2 separate regions of the Homo sapiens genome follow, and region 2 is linked to region 1. The links are contacts of gene promoters, found by promoter capture Hi-C in blood cells and fetal thymus (Javierre and others, 2016). All regions are on one chromosome and are shown on one strand. The core of a region is centred on a gene start or on the middle of the fragment in contact, and the rest is flanking DNA. Distances in the headings are between cores, read along the strand shown. Region 1 overlaps TRABD (TraB domain containing). Region 2 holds the start of BRD1 (bromodomain containing 1).

Region 1 (6,059 bases), core at 3,302-5,801:
TGAGCCCCACCCACTTTGGGCCTGGGTGTGGTACCGGGGGGGCCAACCTTGCACTGAGACCTGACCCATCCCCAGCAACTGCTCAGCAACCCAGTCCTCGGGTGACCAGCCCCTGCCTCAGCTTGGAGAGCCACCCATTTCCTCCTCCCTTGCCTGAAACCGGGTAATGGAGCCTCTTTCATTTCTCCTGGCCCAGGGGAGGTCCCTAACCCGGCAATCCCCAGGGCAGGCCAGGCACAGCCACACTGACTGGGGGCATGGGCTGTGAGAGGAACCTGGGCAACAGGCAAACAGGTGGCTTTGACCCCGACCCTGACCCTGACCCTTGCCCGCGGCTGCGCACCTGCCTCACGGCCTGCTGCAGCTTCTCCAGGCTGAGCTCCTGGGCCTCCCGCAGCAGCGTGCTCTCGTCCATCTTCAGCATGGACACACGATATTGGCAGAGCTCCACGACCACCACGTCAGGCTGCACCTCCCGGATGGTCTGCAACAGCCACAGGTCACACCTCGAGAACACAGCCGCTCCCTGCCCCTCAGCACAGCTGACGCCAGCACCAGGGGCCCCATCCCAGGAGCAGCCAGCCTTGGCGTCACCCCAGGGCTAGCTAACCCCGCTGCTGCAGTGACAGCTCAATTCTCTAAGCGACGAGAGAGGAAGCTGTGAGGCTTGTTCACTTGTTAAGTGGGAAAACGCACAAGGCCGTCACGGCTCCCAGGCAGGAAGCCCACCTTGCCACTCCCAGGGACCACAGTGTTGAAGCAGGAGGCCTGCGGTGCGCACACACGGGCACACGGGCCCTGCCGGGAGGTCCCTGAGTGCAGGACACAGGAGCTTACACCAACCCGTGTCCGGGATGTGGCGGGTGGCGGCGCTCACCTTCACAACGTCCCTCTTGCTGTCGTCGCTGAAGTGGGCTGTCCCCACCACGTACACCCTGCTCCCGTCCTCAGCCACCAACTGGGTCACAGTGCGCGGCAGGTTGGGCCGCTGACGCCGCCGCTTCAGCTTCATCTCCAGGAGCAGGTTGAAGGCGTCCACGTCGGCTGCAACAGCAGCACAGGCCGTTGTGGTGCCGGGCCCACCCCAAGGACGCCGCCGGGCCCGCTGGCAGCCTGGGCTCTAGAACCCTCCTGGGTTCTGAGAACTGAACAGGTGCAGAGCACAAGACTCCTGACGAGCGTCACACTCCACAGGCTTTGCCTGCCCAGTGATGGGAACACCGGCTACCACCTCTGTGAGCTGCACGGCTTCGAGAAGCCAGGGCCTCAGGAGTCCTGTGCCCCATACACCCCATGAGGGCGACCTTGGGGGTTGCTGTGGATGAGGTTCGGTGTGGGGGACAGTGGGGGCAGGTGCCGCAGGGGGCTCAGCTAGGGGAGGGGCTCTGAGGCGAAATGGGCCCCCCCACCCCACTCAGGAGGGACAGGCTGAGGCCACAGCAAGGAGGGACTCCCGTGCCGCTCACACTGCTTGTGCTCACGAGCCCCCCATGCCCAGGGGCCTGCCTGTGCTGCTTGCAGCCCCTCCAAGAGGCTCCACTGCCAGGCAGGGCCCAGGAGCAGCTGCTGTTGGGTGGCACCAGGCCTAGCAGCACCTACCTCAGGTCTCGGCCAGGGCCCCTGCTCACCACAAGCTCCAAGCCCCTGGCAGTGGTTGGCTGCCTCCCCCTCCTCCCTGACTCAACAGCCCAACACCGGGGAACGTGCCAGGACCCTGAGGGACACGTACACAGGTTCTGGGGGTCTCCAGAAAGCACCCTGGGCACCGGCTCTGAAGCCTCTGACGGCACAACAGGTTCCACGTTGGCCTGCAGGTGGAAAGGAGAGTTCAAGTCAGGGTCCATGCACCCCAGAAAGCCAGGGCTCCGTGGCAACTCCACGGACCACGTACCCTGGAAAGGGACCCGTGGCCGCTGTGTGGACCACACACCCTGAAAAACGAGGGCCCGTGACCGCTCCACGGACCACGTACCCGGGAAAGGGACCCGTGGCCGCTCTGTGTACCACACACCCTGAAAAGCAGGGCCTCCGTAGAGCCTAGGCCCCACACTGTCAGTACCCCTCCTGCTTGGCCATCACTGGCACGGCTGCCATCAAGCTGGGCAGACAGGGCCACCAGGCCACCTCAGCCCAGCGCCCCTCTCCCTCGGAGGTGCCTCCTGCCTGACCCTGGAGAACCCTGTGAAGATCACCTTTGCAGAACAACAGCCAGGGACCGACCCCGAGAGCCCACAAAGCGGGGAAGCCCCCCGCCCCTGTCTCTGTGCAGCCAGCCCAGCCTCCACCTCACCTCGTGCGGTGGCTGCTGCTCCTCCCCGTCCATGGCTGGGCGGCGGCTTCCTGCACCTGTGGGGAGCCTGAGGAGAGGCATGAGAGGCGGGGTTTCCACCTGGAGCCCCAGACCTGGCTCAGGACTCACTGCGTAGTGCCCTGTCAGTCTAGAACCATCTGTTGGGTGGGCCTGGGGGCTCCTTCCCCCATATCCCCAAATGCCTCCTGCCCATCAAAGGCTGCTGAGGTCCAGGGTCGGTTCAGGTCAGGCCCGGGTGGGGAAAGGCCAGCAGGTCCCCAGACACCCCAGCATAAACCAAACGCAGACGGGCCCAGGGCGGGTTGCTGGTGCACAGGCCTCACTCAGAACAGGGCCAGAGCTGCCCAACCCTCACTGCGGCACGGCGGGCACACATAGGAAGGCAGCCCTGGGGTCCACACATGATCTCAGGACACAGCAACGCAGCTGCTGACACATGGCAAGGACCCCAGGGCCTTTGTACAAAAGCCACTTCCCCTTTCAGTAACTACAGCCTGGGCAACAACACCGGCACAGAGTCAGTACAGACGGAGGAATCCACAAAGCACACAAATCAACGTGTTTGGACCTAAGACCTTCTCTCCCACTTTAAGAGACAAACATGGTGTGGAAGGAACCACGGTAGAAACCCGGACAGGCTGGGGCAGCCACACGAGGGGGCTGCCCCGAGGCATCACAGCTCCCCACAGACTCTCAGAAACCAGGAGCTCAGGCCGGGGGCCCAGGAGCCTGAGGGAAGGAAGAAAACAGCCAGGCGCCTGCAGCACCAGAGGCACGCACCGGCCAAGACCCACAGAGCATCGGCGAGACCTGCGCGGAGCCCCTCGAGGCGGGGCCAGGGACCAGCAGGCTGTCCTGAGACTGGCCACAGGCCCTGCTGCACCATGTGGCTCTTCCTGAATGTTCTCAGCCACGGAATGCCAGGAGTGACTGTTTACCAAGTTAATGGCTCATGCATGTCCTGGCGGATGGATGTGTCACCAGGCAGAATCATTAAAATATCCCAAACAGGCCAGGCGCGGTGGCTCACACCTGTAATCCCAGCACTTTGGGGGGCCAAGGTGGATGGACTGCCTGAGCTCAGGAGTTCGAGACCAGCCTGGCCAACATAGACCATCCTGGTGAAACCCCATCTCTACCAAAAATACACAAATTAGCCAGGCGTGGTGGTGCACACCCGTAATCCCAGCTACTGGGGAGGCTGAGGCAGGAGAATCACTTTGAACCCGAGAGGCTGAGGTTGCAGTGAGCCGAGATCCTGTCACTGCACTCCAACCTGGGTGACAGAGGGAGACTCTGTCTCAAGAAAAAAACAAAAGTAAAAAATAAAAATGAGCCGTTGGAAACCATTCTGAGCTGTCTAGTCGTGCAAGGTATTGTGGTTTTGTCTTGAAGCGTCTGCGTCAGTCAGACACGAGCATCTGGCGAGGAAACGACGGGGCTTGTAGGATGTGCTTCAGAGGGGCCACTGCCGGGTTCTGCACTGATGCCTGCGTGCATCTGGGGTCATTTTCATGTCACTACTGCTGCCCACTTCTCAGAACTCATAAGAAAAAGGAACAATGAGCAATAAGACGCTATGTCAGGTTCCTTTCCTCTGCAAACCCTGTTGGCACACAGCCACAGCAGGCACAGACCTCGGCCCCAGCCAGGACTCACAGACCCAGCTGGGTCCTGGCCACCCACATCCAAGTTAAGATGCCTCCAAGCTTGGGTGTCCTAACCTGTGAACAGGAAGGAGCTCTCTGTGCAGTGTCTAGGAGGGCAGCTCAGGGGCTGGGGGAGCAGGGACGGCTCTGAGCAGGGGAAGAGGCCTGTCTCAGTGCAACCAGAGGCCCCATCTGAAGCTGGCCGAGAAGAGGGCAGCCCACCCTGCCCTCTTCTTGGACAGCCGGGACTTCTGGGAGAGGAACTGGCCTGGCTTGGGGTGGGTGGTGCAATGGGGCCATGGTCGGGGGAGGTCAGCTGAGACTAAGGAGACAGCTGATAAACACCAGGCTCATGTCCCCGGGGGCCTTGAGCCTCTGCAGAGGGCAAGGGGGGCCCGCTCCACAGGCAGGCTCCCCTATGGGGCCTCACAGCCTTGGCAGGGGGTCCCACTCCTTGCCACCTGGGCTTGAGTCTGGACCCAACCCTGGCCTGGGCGTCTTAGCGGTTGGCACATCCAGGAAGTGCAGCTGGCACCGGTCACAGCAGGACCAGGCCCCGGACCCTTGGGCCGCCTCCTTCCCCTTTTGTAGGTGAAAGCTCCACGATGCAACCCGACCGGAACCCACCGGAAGCTGTTGTGAGCAGCCGCCAGGCCAGCCAGCCCAGACAAGCACCCGGTCCGGGAGACGGCCGCCTCCCTGGGTCTAGCTACACACACAAGCCAGAACTCTTAGGAGCAGCGCAAGACTGCCGGGGCGCACGGGGGAAACTCACACACGGAAGTCCGGACCATTAGAGCAGCGCAAGGCTGCCGAGGCACACCGGGGAAACTCCTTAAAGAAACTCCTGTGCAGCCGGGCGGGAGGCTGCGTCGGCCCAGCCAACAGGAGGCGCCCACGTCGCCACAGCCCTTCCCCCATGGGTGTGGCAGCCCCAGGTCTGCGGTCAGCCCCCACCCTCCACCCAGCCTGGCCAGACCCGCCTCTGAGGCCGGCCTAGGGTACGCCTGTGGCCATGGACAGGGCAGGGTCTCGGTGCAGCAGCAGGCGCTGGTCCTGACCCCAGTCGTGCCATGGGGTGGGCGTGCACAGGTCTCCTGTCAGGGAGGGCAGAGAAGCTTTCCTGGGCCGGCTGCCAAGCCTTGAGCAGGACGATGTCAGCGCCACCAGAGGCAGTGCCAGCCCCCAGCCCTGGCCCCTGCAGCCTCTCAGCAGAGGCGTGCTGCCCGCAGGGAGCCAGGCGGGAAGGTCACTGAGGACCCCCCAGCACCTAAAGCCCGTGATTCTGGGGGACGTCTCTGACAGTCACTCTTACAGTCTCAACACTCTCTTTCCCTCCTCGCCAAGGCCCCTGGAGAGCTCTAGGGTGTGATTTCAGGTTACCAGCCCTCCTCCCTCTAGTCTGCTCCCAGGCAGCTGTGCTCTCAGACATTTATGGCTGGGCCCAGAGCCTCTCCCAGCTGCCTGGCGGTGAGCAAAAGGCCCTGGCCCAAAAGCCACAGATGCTGAGCCTGGACTCTGAAGTGTCTTCAGAGACAATGTCTGAAGAACCCCCACCTGGTTCCCAGCCCCACAACCTCTGGGTCCCAGCAGAGCATCACCTGGGGTCCGGCCAGCACACACTGCAGCCACCCCCTCTGGGTCCCAGCAGAGCATCACCTGGGGTCCGGCCAGCACACACTGCAGCCACCCCCTCTGGGTCCCAGCAGAGCATCACCTGGGGTCCGGCCAGCGCACGCTGCAGCCACCCCCTTTCTACCTGTCCTTTTCAGATACGCTCAGGCCCATCAGCAGAGACCAGCAGACCCTGGCTGCCCCTCCGGGGGGACAGACATCTCTCCTTCCCAAATCCCCAGTGCTGGCACTGCCCCAGGGAACCTCGCAGTGGCTTCTGGCCTTGTTACCTGCAAGGCCAACCCGCTGGGAAGCGGTGCAGCCTGGCAGGAAGCCAGACGCTTGTATCAGACCAGCTGTGCTTCACTCTCCCTGCCCCGCACGGACGTCCACCGAGCAGGACTGGGGTGGGTGCTGAACACGATTTGTGGGACATGCCTCCTGAGCATGGGTAGCCGGCAGACAGGGTCCTCAGATCTCAGACC
Region 2 (7,844 bases), core at 1,404-3,903, 360 kb after region 1:
CTTTCTGATAGTTAAAACTTTTTTTTTTTGTTTTTTTGAGATGGAGTTTTGCTCTTGTTGCCCAGGCTGGAGTGCAATGGCACCATCTCAGCTCACTGTAACCTCCACCTCCCAGTTTCAACCAATTCTCCTGCCTCAGCCTCCCAAGTAGTGGGATTACAGGCATGCGCCGCCACGCCCGGCTAATTTTTTTTTTTTTGTATTTTTAGTAGAGATGGGGTTTCTCCATGTTGATCAGGCTGGTCTTGAACTCCCGACCTCAGGTAGTCTGCCCGCCTCGGCCTCCCAAAGTGCTGGGATTACAGGTGTGAGCCACCATGCCCAGCTAAAATTTTTAACCTTTTTTTCTATCGATTCTAAAATCCTCGAACCAAACAATACAAGAGCTTTCGTGCACTTTCACTTCCTTCTGCGCCCCGCCTTACCATGTGTCATGTTGAGTTCATCCGGGATTTCTCTCAGGTTGATTTTCTTTTAACGGACCAGACTGATTTACTTGCTGGCATCCACGTCTTACTCTTGGGTCCACTTTTCACTTTGTTAAGGTATTTCTTCTAGTACTTTTACAGACTGCGTGTGTGGTAAATGTGGATGTTAACCGGCGGTGAAGACACCTTTATTTTGCTGTCTCACTGGAACGCTAGTTTCACTGTGTATGAGTTACGGTTCAATTCTCTTAGTATTTTGGCAACCCCTCCTCTGTAGGATGAGTCTGAATTCTAAAGAAGATCCTCTCCGAAGGCCTTCCTGAGTATCCCTGTGACATGCCTACGTTCGAGGCTTTGTTCTTCACTCCTCTGAGCATCACCTGCATTGTCTGAGAGGCCACTGTCCCCGTCTCCTCTTCTGTGAAGGGTTTCGTGTCTTTTCATCTTCTCTTTCATGAGACTGTGTCTTACTTTTGCTCTGTGTTGTGGAGAACCTCCAGCTTGGTTTCCATCTGGCTTCCCTGAGGTGGAGGAGAGAAGCGTTCGGGCTCAGCTTGCTTGTTTGGCCACAGGTAAACAGACATCTGTAGAATGGAGGTGACACGAAGCTCCTGGGTCTGGTGCAGAAGAGGTCAGGGCCCCAGTGGCCTGTACCCCCTAAGCTCAAGGGTGTGTCTGCAGGGAGTCCTAGATCAGGACTGACCACTGGGGCCTTGGCTGGGGTCCTACCTGCCCTTGAGTCGTCACGTCACAACCCACACACTGGGTGCCATGGGCATGAGGACTGGCCAGGAAAAGGCCTGTGGGGCCTGGCCCCTATCAGGGACACTTGGGCGAACAAGGCCACCCCACTCCCAATAAGGTGTTTGGTGCAGTGCCCCGAGCAGTGGGGCCGCTCGGCTGCCCCCGTGGGGACGGTCTGTCCCAGGGTGGACAGCTGCTCTTCCTGAGGGGCCTGCCTGGATGCCACAGGCTGTGCTGCTGGAACCCAGGGATTCCACAGCACCATCGTCCTGATCACAAATTCTCAAGGAAACCAAGGAGCTCCTGCCTCACCTTAAAACATTTGGGATTTAATCTTGGAGTGAAAATTGTTATGACCCCACTGAATTTTAGAGTTTACACAAAAGGCCAAAGTGAAGGCAGAGACTCAGGCCTCTCAACTCCCACCCGCAGGGGCCTTTTCTTGCAACCTTAAAGGGCATCTGCTTCACGCCGGCCTCGGCAGGGCCCTCACACTGGCAGGACTACTTGCACACCGGGCCTGACACTCACTAGGGGAGGCTCCCCAGCCCGGCTGCACCACCCACCTCTACCTAGTCGCGTGTCCCGGCCAGTGCCCTTTCCACTCCCACCCAGTGCCCCCGCAGGGCCCCCTCTGTCCTCTTAGGGACCTCCACTCCCGGACCAATAGCCTCCTGCCTCAGGGCCCCCCACTCATGGGCCAATCGCCCCCTGCCTCAGGCCTCCCCCCACTCGTGGGCCAATCGCCCCCTGCCTCAGGCCCCCACCAACTCGTGGGCCAATCGCCCCCTGCCTCAGGGCCCCCCATTCCTGGGCCAATGGCCTTCTGCCTCAGGGACTCCCACTCTCAGCTGGTCCCCCCCGCCTCAGGGACCCCCACTCCTGGCCGTTCCCCCGTCAGGGCCCCCGACTGGCGGCTGCTCCCCCATCCTGCCTCGGGGCCCCCCACTCCCGGGCCAATGTCCTTCTGCCTCAGGTACCCCCACTCCCGGCCCGTCCCCCCGCCTGTGGGCCCCCCACTCCAGGCCGGTGGTAGCCCCTGCCTCAGAGCCGCCCACTCCTGGGCCATCTCCTGCCTCAGCGACCCCACTCCTGGGCCAATGCCCTTCTGCCTCAGGGACCCCCACTCCCAGCCGGTACCCCCCTGCTTCAAAGCCCCCGACTCCCGGCTGCTCCCCACCTGCCTCGGGGCCCCCCACTCCTAGGCCTACGTCCCCCTGCCTCAGGGCCCCTCATTCTCCATCCTCCTGACCCCCTCAGGGACCTTCTGGCCCGGTCCTCCCTAACTCAAGGGCCCCCACTCTCCATCCTCCCGACCCCCCACTCCCAGCCCGGTCCCCGCCGCCTCAGGGCCCCCTTTGGCCCCCGCTCCTCGCGGCGCCCCCTCCCCCGCGCGCGGCCGAGGCAGCGGAGTCCGCGCGTCATGGCGGCGGCGGGCGGGGCGCGTCTCGCACGCAGCGCGCCGGGCGGAGCGCTCGCCGCATTGTTTGCTTCGCTGGGGAGCGAGCGAGCGACCCGGCCCTGGAGTCCGAGCCAGCCCCGCGTCCCGCGCCCGCCGCCCGCCGCCCGCTCCCGCGCCCGCGCCCGCGCCCGCCGGCCGGGCCCCCCGAGCCGGGCCTCCAGCTGGGCCCCGAGCCCGAGCCCGCGCCGCGCGAGCCGCTGCCCGAGAGTCCGCGGCCGCCGCTGCCGGGCCCGGAGCCGCCGCGGCCGAGAGGGGCCCGCGCCCAGGAGCGGCGGCGGGGCCCGGCCTGCGCGGCCGTTGGCGGAGGAGCCGCGGGCGCCATTAGCACCGCCTCGGCCGCGCCGGCCCCCGCGCCCGCCCGCTTGCCGGGCTCCCGCGGCCGCGGCGCCCCGAAGGTGAGTGGGCGGGGGCCTGGCCGGGGAGGCCTCCCCGCCGCCTCGCGGGCCGCCCGGCCGCCGCCGCCGCCTCGGCCCGGCCTCTCGGGGTTGTGGTGCCGACGCCATGTTTGGCGGCGGCGGCGGCGGCGGCGGCTCCGCATTGTCTGCGGGCCGGGAGCCCGGGATGCCGGGGAGGCCGGGCGGGGAGACCGGGGAGGTCGGGCCGGGCGGCCGGGGAGACGGGCGGGAAGACGGGGAGGCCGGGCGGGGAGACCGGGTAGGTCAGGCCGGGGAGTCGAGGGAGGCCGAGTCGGGCTGTGGGTCTCGGCGGCCTGGGCCGCGGGCGCCTGCCCGGAGTCCGCGCTCGAGTCGGGTCGGGCCTCGGGCAGCCGCCGAGCCGGCCGGGCCGCCCCTTATGTAACAGACAGGCCCGCCGAGCTCTGCCAAGACGGGAACTCCCTGTGAGCAGGGACGCGCCCCGAGATCGCCCAGGAGCCGCGCGGCCTGCGGCGGCCGGGCTTGGGAACCGGCACCGCGGCCTCCCCGGGCGTTTGCAGGGAGACGCCTCGCGACGAACGCGAGGCTTCCCCGGGCCTTTTAAAACGAGTGACACGATTGAGGCGCAGTTCACGGGAAACGCGGCTCTTGTGAGCGGACGCGGGAGTTCTGAGAATCCGTAGCAGCGGGACCCCCTGCCCCGCGGGGTGCGGCCCCGTCTCCCCAGAAAGCGCGGCCGCCCGTGTCTGTTTTTGAGGGTCTGTCGCCAGGTGGTTGTGTAGTTAGTGGAATCGGCGGATGTTTTTGTTTGGCCGGCCCAGCGCCGTCCCGAGTGCTGTGTGCTGCACACAACTTCGCACAGCTCAGCGGCCGCGGCCCCTGTGGCCTTGACCGAGAGGCCCGGCGCGTGGCCGGCTTCTCCCTGGGCGGGCGGTGGGAAGATGGAAGCGGCCGTCTTGTGGGCAGCCTTCCCCGCCTGTGGCCCGCAGGGCTCTTCGATGTACTTAAGGGAATTATTCCTTGAGAAGCTACGTGTGTGCCCCCGCGGATCCCTCCCAGTGGAAATGCTTGTCCCAGTGGAAGGGCCAGGGACAGAACCGGCCCAGGGGGGAAGCGGTGAAGCAGAGGAGGTCGTGGGTCGCCCTGCCCTGCTGAGGGCCTACTTTCCCCGGGTCCCAGTTGCATGTTGAGGGTATGGAGCTGCTGTGGCCGTGAAGCCTTCGGTTCAGTTCTCCCCTTGTAGAAAGTGTTGCGATGAAGAGCTTCACGGCTCCCTGGGAGAGAGTGGGTTTCCAGGGGCTGCTTGTCGTTAGGGCGACTCAGGACTTTGCTGTCGAGGGGAAAATGACAGGTTCGTTTCTGATCTGGTGAGTAACCAACTGTTGCTTCTGCCCCACCTCAGTAATGACGCGTGTCGGCGTCCCGGGTGCACTAGGGTCGCTCTCTGCAGGCTGTGGTGTCACCTCTGCAGGGCTCACGGGGCCGGCTGGGGGGTGGCTGTGCTGACAGCTCCCCAGGAATCCAGGGTTGAGTGGGTACCTGGAGGCCCTGGAGATGCAGGGGGTCTGAGGTTTGGCCGACCACATTTTCTCTCCTATTCCTTTCTGTAGGTAATTGCAATCTAGTTTCAACATACAATGAGGATTTCTGTCTGATACAGAGAAAGATACCCAGTGTCTGGAGGGTCTGTCTTAAGAAGTGCTCTTGAAGTCTGCTGGGATTTCCTTTCGGGACTCACAGAGGGAAGCCTGCTCCCTGAGGGCTTTTTCTCAGGCCCAATAGATCAGGGTAAGGCTGCTGTGGGTGCCCCTGATCCCCCTGGGCCCCGAGGCCAGGCGTCCCTGACGTGGCAGGGCTAGATGCAGAGTATGCCTTGGGCTTCAGCTGAGAATATTTGTTTTGCGAGTCAGTCACTGAAAAATCATTTTGCTTCCTGTCAGTGAAGTGTGGCGCTTTGGAGGGAGGCACTGCCCAGCAGGCGGTGGTCTTCACAGGAGGTGTCCACACACCAGGCACCCTGGGGACAGCTAGGAATAGACGCAGTCCGTGGTGTTGGGACAGCAGAGGCCTCTGCCACGAGGAGCTGGAGGTATGGGAGGCAGCTCACTGGTTTTGCCTACCTCTGGAAAAGCAGATTCTCCTAAGCCTCTGTGGCCAAGTCTTCAGGCACCTGAGCCAGCGCTGGCGACCCTCCTGGTGAGGGTCTCTGCAAGCAGCGAGGGGTTCCTGGGGGTCACCCCTCGCTGTGGAGCCTGAGTGGAGCGTCTGCCTTCACGTGTGCCGGGGAGAACAGAGATTCCCTTTGGCGTCATGCATGTGTCTGGATTCTCTCAGAAAGGAGGAGGACGTGGAAGGAGGAGGACGTGGCCAGCACCATGGTCTCAGTGGGGCTTGAGGAGTGCCCCTGAGGGGAAGGGGCAGGTTGGCTCAGCCTGTGGTGGTTTCCATGGTGGTCACTGCCAAGGCTCTGCAGAAGCGGGGTTGGGGCCTCCCAGGGGCCAAGACTGTCCCCTCAGACCAGTACAGGGCTCCCCTGTTGGTCCCCTGTGCCGTGTTGTGCGTGTGGAGGGCCTGTCTATAGAGGATGGACAGGCTGTGATCTGTCTCCTACCCCTGGCCCCAGCAGGAATGCTGCAAGGACTGTGGTGACTCTGGGCTCATGGGAGTGCTCTCCTGGGAGTAGTGGGGAGGGGAAGAGTGGTTTAGGGGGAGCATCCGATAGGACCAGGTAGCCACTGAGCATGCCTGTCTGGTGGGCATAGCCTCTGTGCCTGGTGGGGTCCAGCCCTGTATGTGGACTTCCTGGGGGACCGCCTGCATGCTGGGAAAGTCCTGCAACTGTGGGCTCTGGGCCGGACCCCTCCTCCTTGGGGAGCGTTGCTGTGGTCTCCGCAGCCTGTTGGTGTGGTCTGAGAGGGGACTGGTGTGTGGTGGTAGGGACGCAGGTGCTCAGGAGGGCTCCTCAGGCTGCCTCTCTGCCTGTTACTGCTGCTCCCTCCCTGGTCCTGGGGACTCGCTCAGGCCTGGATGTGTGGTTTTGGACACCTTGGAAAGAGGTTAGCTGTGAGTTTTGCTTTGATTGGGCTTTGAGCTGCTGAGCTAGATCTGTCCAAGCATGCTTTTGTGGTTTTCTCGAGTCTTTGGTCACCCTGCGTAGAATTACCTTTACTTTTGCCTTCATTTTAGGTAATCATTACCAAATGAGGAGGAAAGGACGATGTCATCGAGGCTCTGCAGCGAGGCATCCTTCTTCCCCATGCAGTGTTAAACACTCCCCTACGCGAGAAACGCTGACCTACGCTCAAGCTCAAAGGATGGTAGAGATAGAAATTGAAGGGCGCTTGCACAGGATCAGTATTTTTGATCCCCTGGAGATCATATTGGAAGATGACCTCACTGCTCAAGAGATGAGTGAGTGCAACAGCAACAAGGAAAACAGCGAGCGGCCTCCTGTCTGCTTAAGAACTAAGCGTCACAAAAACAACAGAGTCAAAAAGAAAAACGAGGCCCTCCCCAGCGCCCACGGCACGCCGGCCTCGGCCAGTGCCCTCCCGGAGCCCAAGGTGCGCATCGTGGAGTACAGCCCTCCGTCCGCCCCCAGGAGGCCTCCTGTGTACTACAAGTTCATCGAGAAGTCGGCCGAGGAACTGGACAACGAGGTGGAGTATGACATGGACGAGGAGGACTATGCCTGGCTGGAGATCGTCAATGAGAAGCGCAAGGGCGACTGCGTCCCCGCCGTGTCGCAGAGCATGTTTGAGTTCCTGATGGACCGCTTCGAGAAGGAGTCGCACTGCGAGAACCAGAAGCAGGGCGAGCAGCAGTCTCTGATCGACGAGGACGCCGTGTGCTGCATCTGCATGGACGGGGAGTGTCAGAACAGCAACGTGATCCTCTTCTGCGACATGTGCAACCTGGCCGTGCACCAGGAGTGCTACGGGGTGCCCTACATCCCCGAGGGCCAGTGGCTCTGCCGCCACTGCCTGCAGTCGCGGGCCCGGCCCGCCGACTGTGTGCTGTGCCCCAACAAGGGTGGTGCCTTCAAAAAGACAGATGACGACCGCTGGGGTCACGTGGTGTGTGCCCTGTGGATCCCAGAGGTCGGCTTTGCCAACACGGTGTTCATCGAGCCCATCGATGGGGTGAGGAACATCCCTCCAGCCCGGTGGAAACTGACATGCTACCTCTGTAAGCAGAAGGGCGTGGGTGCCTGCATCCAGTGCCACAAAGCAAACTGCTACACAGCATTCCATGTGACGTGTGCCCAGAAGGCTGGCCTGTACATGAAAATGGAGCCCGTGAAGGAACTGACTGGCGGTGGCACCACCTTCTCCGTCAGAAAGACCGCTTACTGTGATGTCCACACGCCTCCAGGCTGCACCCGGAGGCCTCTGAATATTTACGGGGATGTCGAAATGAAAAATGGCGTCTGTCGAAAAGAGAGCTCGGTTAAAACGGTCAGGTCCACATCCAAGGTCAGGAAGAAGGCAAAAAAGGCTAAGAAAGCTCTGGCTGAGCCCTGCGCGGTCCTGCCGACCGTGTGCGCTCCTTATATTCCCCCGCAGAGGTAAGCGTGTCCAAGCATTGAGTCCACAAGGAGCCTGCAGTGTGGGACCCTGGGAGGACGTGGGCACAGCCTGCAGGGCCCGTGCTGTGTGGTCATTGCGTTTCTAGTTGGCGCAGCTTCCTAATATTCCCCTGAAGTGTGGTTCTGCTTGTTTACCACGTCTTTTTGGGGAATAGATGTTGTAAAAGATTTTAGTCTGTAGGCTTGGAATAATCTGTAGTTTTCTATGTTTTTTTTTTTGGAGACGGAGTTTTACTCTGTCGCCCAGG

What was found. The method cuts DNA at HindIII sites, captures the fragments that hold promoters and counts their contacts. A CHiCAGO score of 5 or more calls a contact.
Region 2: a contact is called between the fragment with the promoter of BRD1 here and a fragment that was not itself captured in region 1, in 1 of 17 cell types (erythroblasts). The highest score is 5.7, in erythroblasts.

The regions. Positions count from the first base shown.
Region 1 is chr22:50,189,325-50,195,383 of GRCh38, reverse strand. TRABD (TraB domain containing) reads right to left here. Exons shown (of 10, transcript NM_001320485.2): 2 at 2,291-2,357; 3 at 1,730-1,808; 4 at 878-1,044; 5 at 344-484. The coding sequence starts at 2,323. Among named protein-coding and RNA genes, the nearest start is that of TRABD, 6.4 kb to the right of the region's middle. RefSeq lists enhancers at 3,625-3,774, 3,965-4,184, 4,455-4,814, 4,500-5,114, 5,115-5,729 and 4 more and a silencer at 3,425-3,474. The HindIII fragment of the contact is 1,058 bases long and covers 4,023-5,080 here.
Region 2 is chr22:49,822,682-49,830,525 of GRCh38, reverse strand. It overlaps BRD1 (bromodomain containing 1), which reads left to right and starts at 2,653. Exons shown (of 13, transcript NM_001304808.3): 1 at 2,653-3,029; 2 at 6,195-7,575. The coding sequence starts at 6,209. RefSeq lists silencers at 2,519-2,588, 3,319-3,488 and enhancers at 3,989-4,188, 5,398-5,977. The HindIII fragment of the contact is 34,147 bases long and covers 1-7,844 here.